Regions from separate parts of the Homo sapiens genome. Here all the other regions are linked to region 1. The links are contacts of gene promoters, found by promoter capture Hi-C in blood cells and fetal thymus (Javierre and others, 2016). All regions are on one chromosome and are shown on one strand. The core of a region is centred on a gene start or on the middle of the fragment in contact, and the rest is flanking DNA. Distances in the headings are between cores, read along the strand shown.

Region 1 (3,877 bases), core at 1,319-3,818:
CGGGTTATTGATAAGAACCTTTCGTCAAAGCTGAAGGCCTAAGGGCAGGGATCCCCCGCCTACCCCCGGTGCCAGGTGCCCTCGACCTCCTGGGCCTGTGTCCCGCATAACCCTCACAAAAACCGAGGCAGGAGCACACCTTGGAAGCACCAGTCCGTTTCTCACCTTCATCTGGGGTCGCTGTCTGGAGTCCGCCTTCTCAGCCGCCGCGCCCGACCTGGACATCTTTCGGCTTCTTAGCGGCCGGCGCCTTCCCGCCAAGATTGCGGCGGGAGGCCGGGAGGGGCGGGTCCGAGGCGGGGCGGAGCCCACTCAGATCCCCAGCGGCCGCAGCGCCAGAGCAGGAAGTTGGGGTTTTACGCGCGCTTCTTAAGAAGGCCGCCTTGGCCAGGCGCGGTGGCTCCCGCCTGTAATCCTAAGCACTTTGGGAGGCTGAGGCGGCGGATCACCTGAGGTCAGGAGTTTGAGACCAGCCTGGCCAACATGACGAAACCCCGTCTCTACTAAAATTACAAAAATTAGCCGGGCTTGGTGGCGCGTGCCTGTAATCCCAGTTACTCAGGAGGCTGAGGCAGAATTGCTTGAACCCAGGGGGCAGAGGTTGCAGTGAGCTGAGATCGCGCCATTGCACTCCAGTCTGGGCAACAAGAGTGAGACTCCGTCTCAAAAAAAAAAAAATGCTGTCTTAAAGCCCTAGACTCAAATTCTTTAGGGATGTCCTGGGGCTGAACTGACATTTTTACCTTTGACTGGTGATTTTGATTCTGGTGGTACTGGGATGTCGCTTTGAAAAACACTAACAGGCCGGGAGCGGTGGCTAACGCCTGTAATCCCAACACTTTGAGAGGCCGAGAGGAGTGGATCACTTGGGCCCAGGAGTTCCAAACCAGCCTGGGCAACATAGTGAGACCCCATCTCTATAAAAAATACAAAAATTAGCCCAGCGTGGTGTTGTACGTCTGTAGTCCCAGCTACTCAGAAGGCAGGGGTGGGAAAATGGCTTGAACCTAGAAGGATGAGGCCACAGTGAGCCGTGATTGCGCGGAACTCCAGCCTGAGCGACAGAGCAAGACCCTCTTCTATAAATAATAAAATAAGATTCTGGCTATTCTCTTTAAGGTTCCTTCTAGCCCAAAACTGTTTCCTTGGTTGCTTAGTTGGGTCCCACACTGTTCCTTGCCTGAGATTTGTCCAGTTTCATTTCTTCTCCCACTCAAGGCCCAATTGTAGAACACAGGTGAAGTAATTTGGGTTAATCATATTAATAGCAACTTCAAGGCCCCTCATGACTCAAAAATTACTGATAAAACCAAACTTTTCATGGTGTCCTGTATAAAACATACTGTTTCTGGACTTTAAGACTTTGTTCCTACTGTCCCTTGTCTCCCCCGCAGTTATAAAGTCCTTTCTACTGTGAAATGTGTCCTGACTTTCCAATTAGCCAATATTATATATATTTTTTAACACGACTCAGCTTGTAAATTGGAGCTGCTTCTGTTATTATCCTGTAAGTCCTTAAAGAGTTCTTAAATAGGCCGGGTGCGGTGGCTCACCTCTGTAATCCCAGCACTTTGGGGAGGCCGAGGTAGGTGGATCATCTGAGGTCAGGAGTTCAAGACCAGCCTGGGCAACATGGCGAAACCCTGCCTCTACTAAAAATACAAAAATTAGCCGGGAGTGGTGGCCCACGCCAACACTCAGCACTGTGGGAGGCCGGAGTGGGCGGATCACTTAAGCCTGGCCAACATGGTGAAACCTCGTCTCTACTAAAAATACAAAAATCAGCAGGGAGTGGTGGCAGGCGCCTGTAATCCCAGCTAATCAGAAGGCTGAGGCACGAGAATTGCTTAAACCCGGGAGGTGGAGACTGCAGTGAGCTGAGATCGAGCCACTGCACTCCAGCCTGGGTGACAGAAAAAGACAGTCTCAAAAGAATAATAATTACTTAGATATTTAAATACAAACATTTTCTAGCCAGGAATGTATTTTAATAGGTAGTTTCCAGAAACTGGAAAAACCTGAAAGCCTAAAAAAGTGGAGTTTTGGGATTTCAGGTGGGCAATGTCCCAGGCACCTCGGGAGTTTTTTTTTTTTTTTTTTCGGTCACTGGCCTAAATCAGCACCACCTGCCCTGTGAAACCAAATACCGCACCACAGCCCACCCTGGCCTTATGAACTAAGCTAATCGGATACTACTGGCAAGATTTTTATTCCATCAAACTCTACTTCTTCTGAGCTTTCAACAAGCCATTCAAACAGTAACTCACTGTCGCCTGAGTTTCTTATTCACTATACCGTTCTTGGCTTCAAACCAAGCTAACACGTAAAATCTTTCATTCGAACCTTCCTCACCGCAGAGTCCTAACAGCAAAGCCCAAAGGAAGCAAAATTTCCCGCCAAAAGCTGCTTCCAAATTCTGCGACGTAGAGGACATGCGGGCAGCCAATGAGCATGCGCAGAAACCGACTCGACTTCCTAGCTGTGGGCGCCCAAACGTCGTCCACCATCCCACAATCCTCTCGTCACGTATTTCCGGTTTATCTAGCTCAGCCGTAAGTAGTTTCTCTATCAGTCGCGCAGCTGTGTTCGCGGACTCAGGTGGAAGGAATTTCTTCTCTTCGTTGACGTTGCTGGTGTTCACTGTTTGGAATTAGTCAAGTTTCGGGAATCACCGTCGCTGCCATCAACATGTCGGTCCCAAGCGCTCTCATGAAGCAACCGCCCATTCAGTCTACGGCTGGGGCCGTCCCAGTTCGCAATGAGAAAGGTACGGTGCTAACACCCTCTTCCCAGTCGAATTTTAACCCCTTCCGGCCCCAGCAACCTCCAGACCTCTCCCGGACAGACCACTCCAACCCCGCCAGCTCTTGAGATCTGGCTGCCAGATTCTTCGATCTTTCCACCCCCACCCACTTGCATCCGATCTTGTTCCTGTGGCCTGCTCTCGTATTCAGCAAGCACCTCTCTTCTGTTAGCCTCCACAAATTCCTTAGACTAATGTTACATATATATAATATATATTACACATATAAAAACATTAGGAACTTAAGTATATATCAGAATATATATGTCTAATATATATATGCTAGAATATATGTATTAGTCTAATATATATTATGATTAGAATATAATATCACTAATTACATATAATTACAAGAATTTATGTATTATTAGTGTAATTACTTAGGAACTTAAGTATATTATTAATCTAATAATTAGGAACTTAAGTATATATCAGAATATGTATATAATATCAGACTAGATAGATAGATAGAGAATGCCTGTTGGCAGGGCATTGTGCGGGATACAGTCCCTCTTTTGCTGTCCATAGAAGTCTGCTTATGCTGCCCAGGCTGGACTCGAATTCCTGGGGCTCAGGCTGTCCTCCTGCCTCAGCCTCCCGAGTAGATGCCGCCGTATCTAGTCTCAACATGGCTTTTGAGAATTATCTTTGGATCCCTATACATCTAATTCATTCATCTTAACAGCTTATGAATTCCATTGTATAAAATAAACTGTAATCCACACTTTATTCCCTACTGAGAGGCAGGTGGTTGTCCCCTTGTTCAAAAAAGTGCTGCGGCCAGGCACGGTGTCTTATGCCCATAAACCCAGCACTTTGGGAGGCTGAGGCGGGCTGAACACCTGAGGTCAGGAGTTCAAGACAGCCTGGCGATCATGGCGAAACCCCGTCTCTACTAAAAATACAAAAAATTAGCCATGCATGGTGGTGGGTACCTGTAATCCCAGCTACTTGGGAATCTGAGGCAGGAGAATTGCTTGAACCCGGGAGGTGGAGGTCGCAGTGAGCAGAGATCGCACCATTGCACTCCAGCCTGGGCCACAGTGTGAGACACTCTCTCAAAAAAAAAAAAAG
Region 2 (3,867 bases), core at 819-3,318, 400 kb before region 1:
CAAGTGTGTTGAATATGATGACAGAAAGGTAAGTTTTAATAGGAGCATATTAGAAGGGAACATAATTTAGTCTGAGTAGTTGGGGAAAGCTTCCTGGAAAAAGTAACACTTAAACTGAGATTTAAAGGATAGTACCAGCCTGGTGCTTTGGCTCATGCCTGTAATCCCAGCATTTTGGGAGGCTGGGGTGGGAGAATTACCTGAGCTCAGGAGTTCGAGAACAGACTGGGCAACATAGCAAAACCTTGTCTTTACTAAAAAAACTAAAAAATAATAAAAAATTAGTTGGGCATGGTGGTGTATGCCTATAGTCCCAGCTACCAGGAAGGTTGAGGTGGAAGGATTGCTTGAGCCTGGAAGATGGAGGCTGCAGTGAGCCATCATTGCACCACTGCACTCCCACCTGGGCTACAGAGCAAGACCCTGTGTCAAAAACAAACACACAAACAAACAAATAAACAATAAAAAAAAGTAGGAACCAAAAAGATGAAAATGGGAAGGGAACTGAAAGAGGACAGAAACAGGACAGGAACAGTATCTAAGAAAGCTAAGACTTTAGAAATAATGACATGTTCTTAGTACTGAAAAAAGTCAAGGTTGTGGGAATTTAATAAATGAGGAGGAAAGTGGCACCATGTGAGCCTGTAGAAGCAGACAGCAGCTGAATCACGCTGTCCTAAGAATTTATGATTTTATCCTAGGGGCAGTAGGAAGTAATTGGAGGTTTTAATAAGGGAAATGAGGAGGTCAGAATTATGTTTGTAAAAGCACATGTTGGCTTGGCGCGGGGCTCCAGTCTGTAATCCCAGCACTTTTGGAGGCCGAGGTGGGTGGATCACAGATCAAGAGATAGAGACCATCCTGGCCAACAGAATAGGCAGGAGAATCACTTGAACCCGGGAGGCAAAGGTTGCAGTGAGCTGAGATGGTGCCACTGAACTCCAGCCTGGGCGACAGCGTGAGACTCTGTCTCAAAAAAATAAAAATAAAAAAATAAAAGCACATGTTTGCTGTAATATGAATGTATCTGAGACACAAGAGTTTGTTATTTGTTTATTTTGGTGGGAGGTGGTTTTATTTGTTGTTTGCAATTATTCAGGCAAGAGACTGTGGTAACTTAGACCCTTAGATATTTGCATCCCCTACAAGGTCGAGTACAAGTGTTTGTTTCCAGTGTCATTAATAAATGTTTTTTGAACTGAAGTAAATTAATTGGCTCATAAGTATAAACTCCAAGACACTACAGTCATCAGGAACAAACACTTTTATTTTTTTTTTTGAGATGGAGACTCGTTCTGTCACCCAGGCTGGAATGCAGTGGTGTGATCTCAGCTCACTGCAAACTCCGCCTCCCAGATTCAAGCGATTCTCCTGCCTCAGCCTCCCGAGTAGCTGGGATTACAGGCACATGCCACCATGCCTGGCTACTTTTTTTTTTTTTTTTTTGAGACAGAGTTTCCCTCTTTTGCCCAGGCTGTAGTACAATGGCGCCATCCTGGCTCACCGCAACCTCCGCCTCCCAGGTTCAAGAGATTCTCCTGCCTCACCATCCCTAGTAGCTGGGATTAGAGGCATGTGCTACCATGCCCAGCTAATTTTGTATTTTTTCAGTAGGGTTTCTCCATGTTGACCTGGCTGGTTTCGAACTCCTGACCTCAGGTGATCTGCCCACCTCAGCCTCCCAAAGTGCTGGGATTACAGGTGTGAGCCACTGCGCCTGGCCTAATTTTTGTATTTTTAGTAGAGACAGAGTTTTGCCATCTTGGGCAGGCCGGTCTCAAACTCCTGATCTCAGGTTATCCACCCACCTCAGCCTCCCAAAGTTCTGGGATTACAGGTGTGAGCCACCCTGCCCGGCCATGGATCAAACACTTTTCTTTTTTTGAGACAGAGTCTCGCTCTGTCACCCAGGCTGGAGTGCAGCGGCGTGATCTCAGCTCACTGCAACCTTCGCCTCCCAGGTTCAAGCGATTCTCCTGCCCCAGCCTCCTGAGTAGCAGGGGGAACAAACACTTTTAAATACCTGGGCATTCTTCTCCAAGTGACCTCAGGTCTGTGATTCCAGGTTTCACTAAGTCCAGAGCAAATAATAATTTCTTCTCTAGTGGTCCCTGAAGATCCTGTATCAGGAAGAAAACACTGTAACTAAAACTACTGCCAGTCTCATTTTACAGGAAACTTCTCTATAAACGTCACTTGTTAAGTACTGGTGGAAATGACATTCCTTTCAGTTCAAGAAAGGAAGCTCATTCTTTCTCATTAGTTGCCTCCTGCTTTGGTTGCTAATGTTTCAATGTATGCAAATAAAATCTCTCCCTTACCTTACTTCATAAAACAACAGGTTATGCTTTTAATTTTTTGTGAGGTTAGAAAATCTGTCTAGGTGTAATATTTGGTAATCTTGTGTCAGATTACTTTTATGCTTAGTAATTTTTAAAATTTTCAAGATAGCCATTTATCATCAAAATGGGAAGTGTGTGTGGGTATGAATAAGCACGATTAAAGAAAACAGGCCATGGCCGGGTGCAATGGCTCATGCCTGTAATCTCAGCACTTTGGGGGGCCGAGGTAGGTGGATCACTTGAGGCCAGGATTTCGAGACTAGCCTGGCCAACATGGTGAAACCCTGTCTCTACTAAAAAAATATAAAAAATTAGCCGGGCATAGTGGCGCATGCTTGTAGTCCCAGCTACTCAGGAGGCTGAGGCAGGAGAATCGCTTGAACCCAGGAGACGGAGGTTGCAGTGAGCCAAGATCGTGCCATTGCACTCCAGCCTGAGCAACAAGAGTGAAACTCCATCTCAAAAAAGAAAAGGAAAGAACAGATGAGCAGATATTTAAGGAAAATAGCTAGTTATGAAGCATAATTATTCAGGACAGCTGTGAGATACACATGCGTGCACACACACACACACACACACACACACACACACACCTCTTCTTTCAGATACCAAATAGAGACATGATTAAGTTTCTTTTCAGTGTGACAAAGCAAAGTTGATCCCATTTCCTTCAAACCTACTCGGTTTTCTTATCTATAAAATGGAGATAATACTGTTTACTTCATGAGGCTGTAAGGATTAAATATGTTACATAAAATAACAAGTAAGTACAGTAAATGTTTAATCAATTAAATAATACATAGAAAAAATACTAAGATACTCTACATATCTAGACGCCTTCTCCATACAACCTTAAAGACTTGATATTATTAGGAATGTTTACATTATGAATTGGACTAAGGAACATTTTTAGACAAACTTGAAGTAGTTGCAATTAGTCTTTGGTTCACCTTCCTGCCCCTTTGTGTTCAGGTTCATCCTCTTCTGTATTCACATTCCTGGTGTCCACATGATGGTTTCTAATTGCTTGTTGCTTTCCTTTTTGCAGTCTATTCAGAACTTATTTCTCTGAAAGTATTTCATGACACAGTGTACTCCAAAATGAGGTGTCTTTTTTTCTAACTCTGTTTTTTGTTTTTGAGGCAGAATTTTGCTCTTGTTGCCCAGGCTGGAGTGTAATGGCACGACCTCGGCCTTCTGCAACCTCCATCTCCCAGGTTCAAGCAATTCTCCTTCCTCAGACTCCTCAGTAGCTGGGACTACAGGTGCACATCACCAGATCTGGCTAATTTTTTTGTATTTTTGGTAGATACAGGGTTTCACCATGTTGGCCAGGCTTGTCTCAAACTCCTGACCTCAAGTGATTCGCCCACCTTGGCCTCCTAAAGTGCTGGAATTACAGGTATGAGCCACCACACTCGGCCATTTCTAACTCTGTTTAAACTTTCAACCTCTTCAAAAGGCTCAACTTAGCTAGGCGTTAGGAAGCAAGTGCTCTTACTAAGCTAATTTGAATCAAAGCATT
Region 3 (3,787 bases), core at 1,151-3,650, 450 kb before region 1:
TGAAGTTGTAACAGTAATTTTTTGTTGGCTTTTTTTGAAACAGGGTCTCACTCTGTCACTCAGGCTGTACTGCAGTGGTGCAGTCATAGCTCACTTCAGCCTCGAACTCTTAGGCTCAAGCGATCCTCCTGCCTCAGCCTCCCAAGCTAATTTAAAAAAATATTTTTTTGTAAAGACAGGATCTCACTATATTGCCCAAGCTGGTCTTGAACTCCTGGCCGTAAGCAATCCTCCTGTCTCAGCCTACCAAAGGGCTGGGATTACAGATGTGAGCCACTGTGTCCAGCTGAGTAATACTTTTCAGTGAAATTTTAAAAAATTCATCATCATGGCATTGTTATTGGAAGCCTACTTTGTTCAAGGATTTATATCATGGTGCATGCATTAAGTAATTAACAAATTAATTAATTACTCAAATATTTACTGTGTGCCTGCCATGTGACAATCTATAGTGTTGTAGGTGAGAGGAAGTGCGGAGGATACAGCAGAAATAGAAAGGTCCTCCTGAAGCTTCCAGTCTCTTCCTCCTTTACCAGTGCCCAACCAGGGGAACACTGTATTCAGTTTCCTCCTTGAGAACATTTTTCAACAGCTCCCATGCCCTGCTGCTCCCAAGTGATGGAAGTGACCACTATCTTACTGTGCCTGCATGATGTCCTCTAGTTTTCTATTGTAGCAGTTTATTTTGCTGACTCTACAGTAGACTTTTGGTAGATTTTTTTTTTTTGAGATGGAGTCTTGCTCTGTTGCCCAGGCTGGAGTGCAGTGGCACAATCTCGGCTCACTGCAACCTCTGCCTCCTGGGTTCAAGCAATTCTCCTGCCTTAGCCTCCTGAGTAGCTGGGACTACAGATGCGCACCACCATGCCCAACTAATTTTTTGTATTTTTAGTAGAGACGGGGTTTCACCATGTTGGCCATGATGGTCTTGATCTCCCAACATCGTGATCCACCCGCCTTGGCCTCCCAAAGTTTTGGAATTACAGGCGTGAGCCACCACACCCAGCTGGTAGATGTTTTTCTGCAGGACCACATTATAAGATAGTATGAGGTAGGCTGTGATTTTGTTTTGACACCACACCATTAGGCTTTTTTTTCCCCTTCTCCAATGCCTGCTCACTTCTTTCTTTTCCATTTATCTGAAACTTTTTTTTTGAGACAGTGTCTCACTCTGTCACCCAGGCTGGAGATCAGTGACACAATCATGGCTCACGGCAACCTCGACCTCCCTGGCTCAAGCAATACTCCTGCTTCAGCCTCCCAAGTAGGTGGGGACTACAGACACACACAACCACACCTGGCTAATTTTTAAATTTTTTGTAGAGACGGTGTCTTTCTGTGTTGCCCAGGCTGGTCTCAAACTCCTGGGCTCAAGCAGTCCTCCCGCCTCGGCCTCCCAAAGCATTGGGATTTACAGGCGTGAGCCATCGTGCCCAGCCTAAAACATTTTTAAAATACTCTCTTATTCATTTCATTCTTTTTTTCTTTATATCCTTGAATTATGGAATTTTAGAACAGGAAGGGAATTTAGAGATTACCTAGTCTAAAACTCCTATTTAATAGATGAAGATAAAAATCCAGAGAAGTATTGCGATTTAAAATTATTCTATTTGGCCAGGCGTGGTGGCTCACGCCTGTAATCCCAGCACTTTGGGAGGCTGAGGCAGGTGGATCAGGAGGTCAAGATATCGAGACCATCCTGGCCAACATGGTGAAACCCTGTCTCTACTAAAAATACAAAAATTAGCTGGGCATGGTGGTGCGCGCCTGTAGTCCCAGCTACTCAGGAGCCTGAAGCAGGAGAATCGCTTGAACCCAGGAGGCAGAGGTTGCAGTGAGCTGAGATTGTGCCACTGCACTCCAGCCTGGTGACAGAGCAAGACTCGGTCTCAAAAAAAAAAATTATTCTATTCTACCAGTCAAAGGCAGACATAGGATGAGAATACAAGCTTTCTTCAAGATCCAGCATAAATCCTCACCCTCTGAGAGCTTCTTCCAAATTCCAGCTCAGCTCACATATTTTTCATCTGAATTTTGCAATTATTGTCTACATCATTGCGTATATTATCTACATTTATTGTCTGCATCATTTTGGCAATAATCAGAGTATAATACTGCCTTGCACTGCTACTCAAGTCTTTCACATTGGTTTGACTTGACTCTCCAGTTAGCTGTAAACTCTGGAAAGCACAGATTTTTCACTTTTATTTTCTCTGCTGGCAGTTAATGATATTAAGCAGATATGTACTGAGTGAATTAATGGGCACATAGTAGGGATTCAAATATTTTTTGACTGATTAGTCATCACTTCTCACCTATCTTTTCAAAATATAGTGGTTCTTGTTCCTTAACATTTGCTTCTATTTCCATTGTAATTTTTAAAAACCATACTTAGATTTTTGGCAAGCAATGAAAAGATGGTCATGCCTCTGCACAGTCTGCTGCAATGTATTTTTTCTACACTTGGCAGAAAACCCAAGGTTTCTGCCCTATTTTTTGTTCTCTGCCCTGCAGTTCATCTAATCTTCTAGCTCATGGTGGCTTTCTCTGCTAGATATTGTTCTGAAGAGTGACCCAATTAAATATGGCCCCATTTGATGCAGTGGGACTTTATGTGGGGCTAGTTTCAGATGACCACCTTGTAATTTTCCGAACCTTTATTTATGTAGTTTTTTTTTTTTTCATTCCTCAGCACCTGCTGCAGATGCTAGTGTGCCATCACAATAAATCCTCCTGTGCTGACTTTCAGGCAGAAGACACAGCTGTGAGCAGAGCTGGTCATGTGTCATCTACTGCTTTTTAAGCAGATCCTCGTGTGTATCCATTGTCTGAGCTTTAAGTAGAAGCTTTTTTAACCTACATAGTTTTTCACTGAATCTGTTAGTTTCAGCATGCTGTTTGTGTTGTTTTCAGTAGTGCAATTCCTGATATCTATCAAGTAAACACCATTAAGGATTGAGCTCACTTCATGCTCCTGTTCAGGTGCTATGTTTTGATTTGTCGGTATCCCAGAGAAGCAGCCCATTGCATCCAAGGCCAGAACAGAAGGCAGCGATTGCAAAACATCATATTTTGTAGCAGGACGATGTAGTAACTTTGAAATACTGATCCTTATTAACATATTGGTGTGCACAATGCTTTCTTTTGGCATCTGAGTATTGATGGGATTATTTTAAATCCATATTAAAAATTACTCCAAAGCAGGCAGATTGCTTGAACCCAGGAGACCAGCCTGAGCAACATAGTAAAACCCATCTCTACAAAATATACAAAAATTTGCTGGACATGGTGGCCCATGCCTATGGTCCCAGCTACTTGGGAGGCTGAGGTGGGAGGATCATTTGAGCAAGAGGATGAGGCTGCAGTGAGCCATGATCACACCACTGTACTCCAGCTTTGGCGATGGGAGTGAGACCATGTCTCAAAAAATGAAAATAAAACAAATTACTGATATTTAACTGGGCACAGTGGTTCATGCCTGTAATGCCAACACTTTGGGAGGTTGAGGCGGGAGGATCATTTGAGGCCAGGAGTTCAAGACTAGCCTGGGCAACACAGTGAGACCCCATCTCTATTAAAAAAAATTTTTTTTTTGGCCGGGCATGGTGGCTCATGCCTGTAATCCTAGCACTTTGGGAGTCCAAGGCGGGAGGATCACAAGTTCAGGAGATCGAGACCGTCTTGGCCAACATGGTGAAACACCATCTCTACTAAAATACAAAAAATTAGCCAGGCGTAGTGGTGCGTGCCTGTAATCCCAGCTACTTGGGAGACTGAGGAAGGGGAA

The links. The method cuts DNA at HindIII sites, captures the fragments that hold promoters and counts their contacts. A CHiCAGO score of 5 or more calls a contact.
Region 2: a fragment that was not itself captured here is called in contact with the fragment with the promoter of MFAP1 in region 1 in 1 of 17 cell types (endothelial precursors); the score reaches 5.7 in endothelial precursors.
Region 3: a fragment that was not itself captured here is called in contact with the fragment with the promoter of MFAP1 in region 1 in 1 of 17 cell types (endothelial precursors); the score reaches 5.5 in endothelial precursors.

What each region holds. Positions count from the first base shown.
Region 1 is chr15:43,823,381-43,827,257 of GRCh38, reverse strand. It overlaps MFAP1 (microfibril associated protein 1), which reads left to right and starts at 2,568. Exons shown (of 9, transcript NM_005926.3): 1 at 2,568-2,767. The coding sequence starts at 2,689. WDR76 (WD repeat domain 76) reads right to left here and starts at 256. Exons shown (of 13, transcript NM_024908.4): 1 at 166-256. The coding sequence starts at 225. RefSeq lists a silencer at 228-287 and enhancers at 2,121-2,752, 2,505-2,764. The HindIII fragment of the contact is 28,469 bases long and covers 1-3,877 here.
Region 2 is chr15:44,221,003-44,224,869 of GRCh38, reverse strand. No RefSeq gene overlaps it. Among named protein-coding and RNA genes, the nearest start is that of FRMD5, 28 kb to the right of the region's middle. The HindIII fragment of the contact is 3,954 bases long and covers 92-3,867 here.
Region 3 is chr15:44,274,320-44,278,106 of GRCh38, reverse strand. No RefSeq gene overlaps it. Among named protein-coding and RNA genes, the nearest start is that of GOLM2, 13 kb to the left of the region's middle. The HindIII fragment of the contact is 897 bases long and covers 1,952-2,848 here.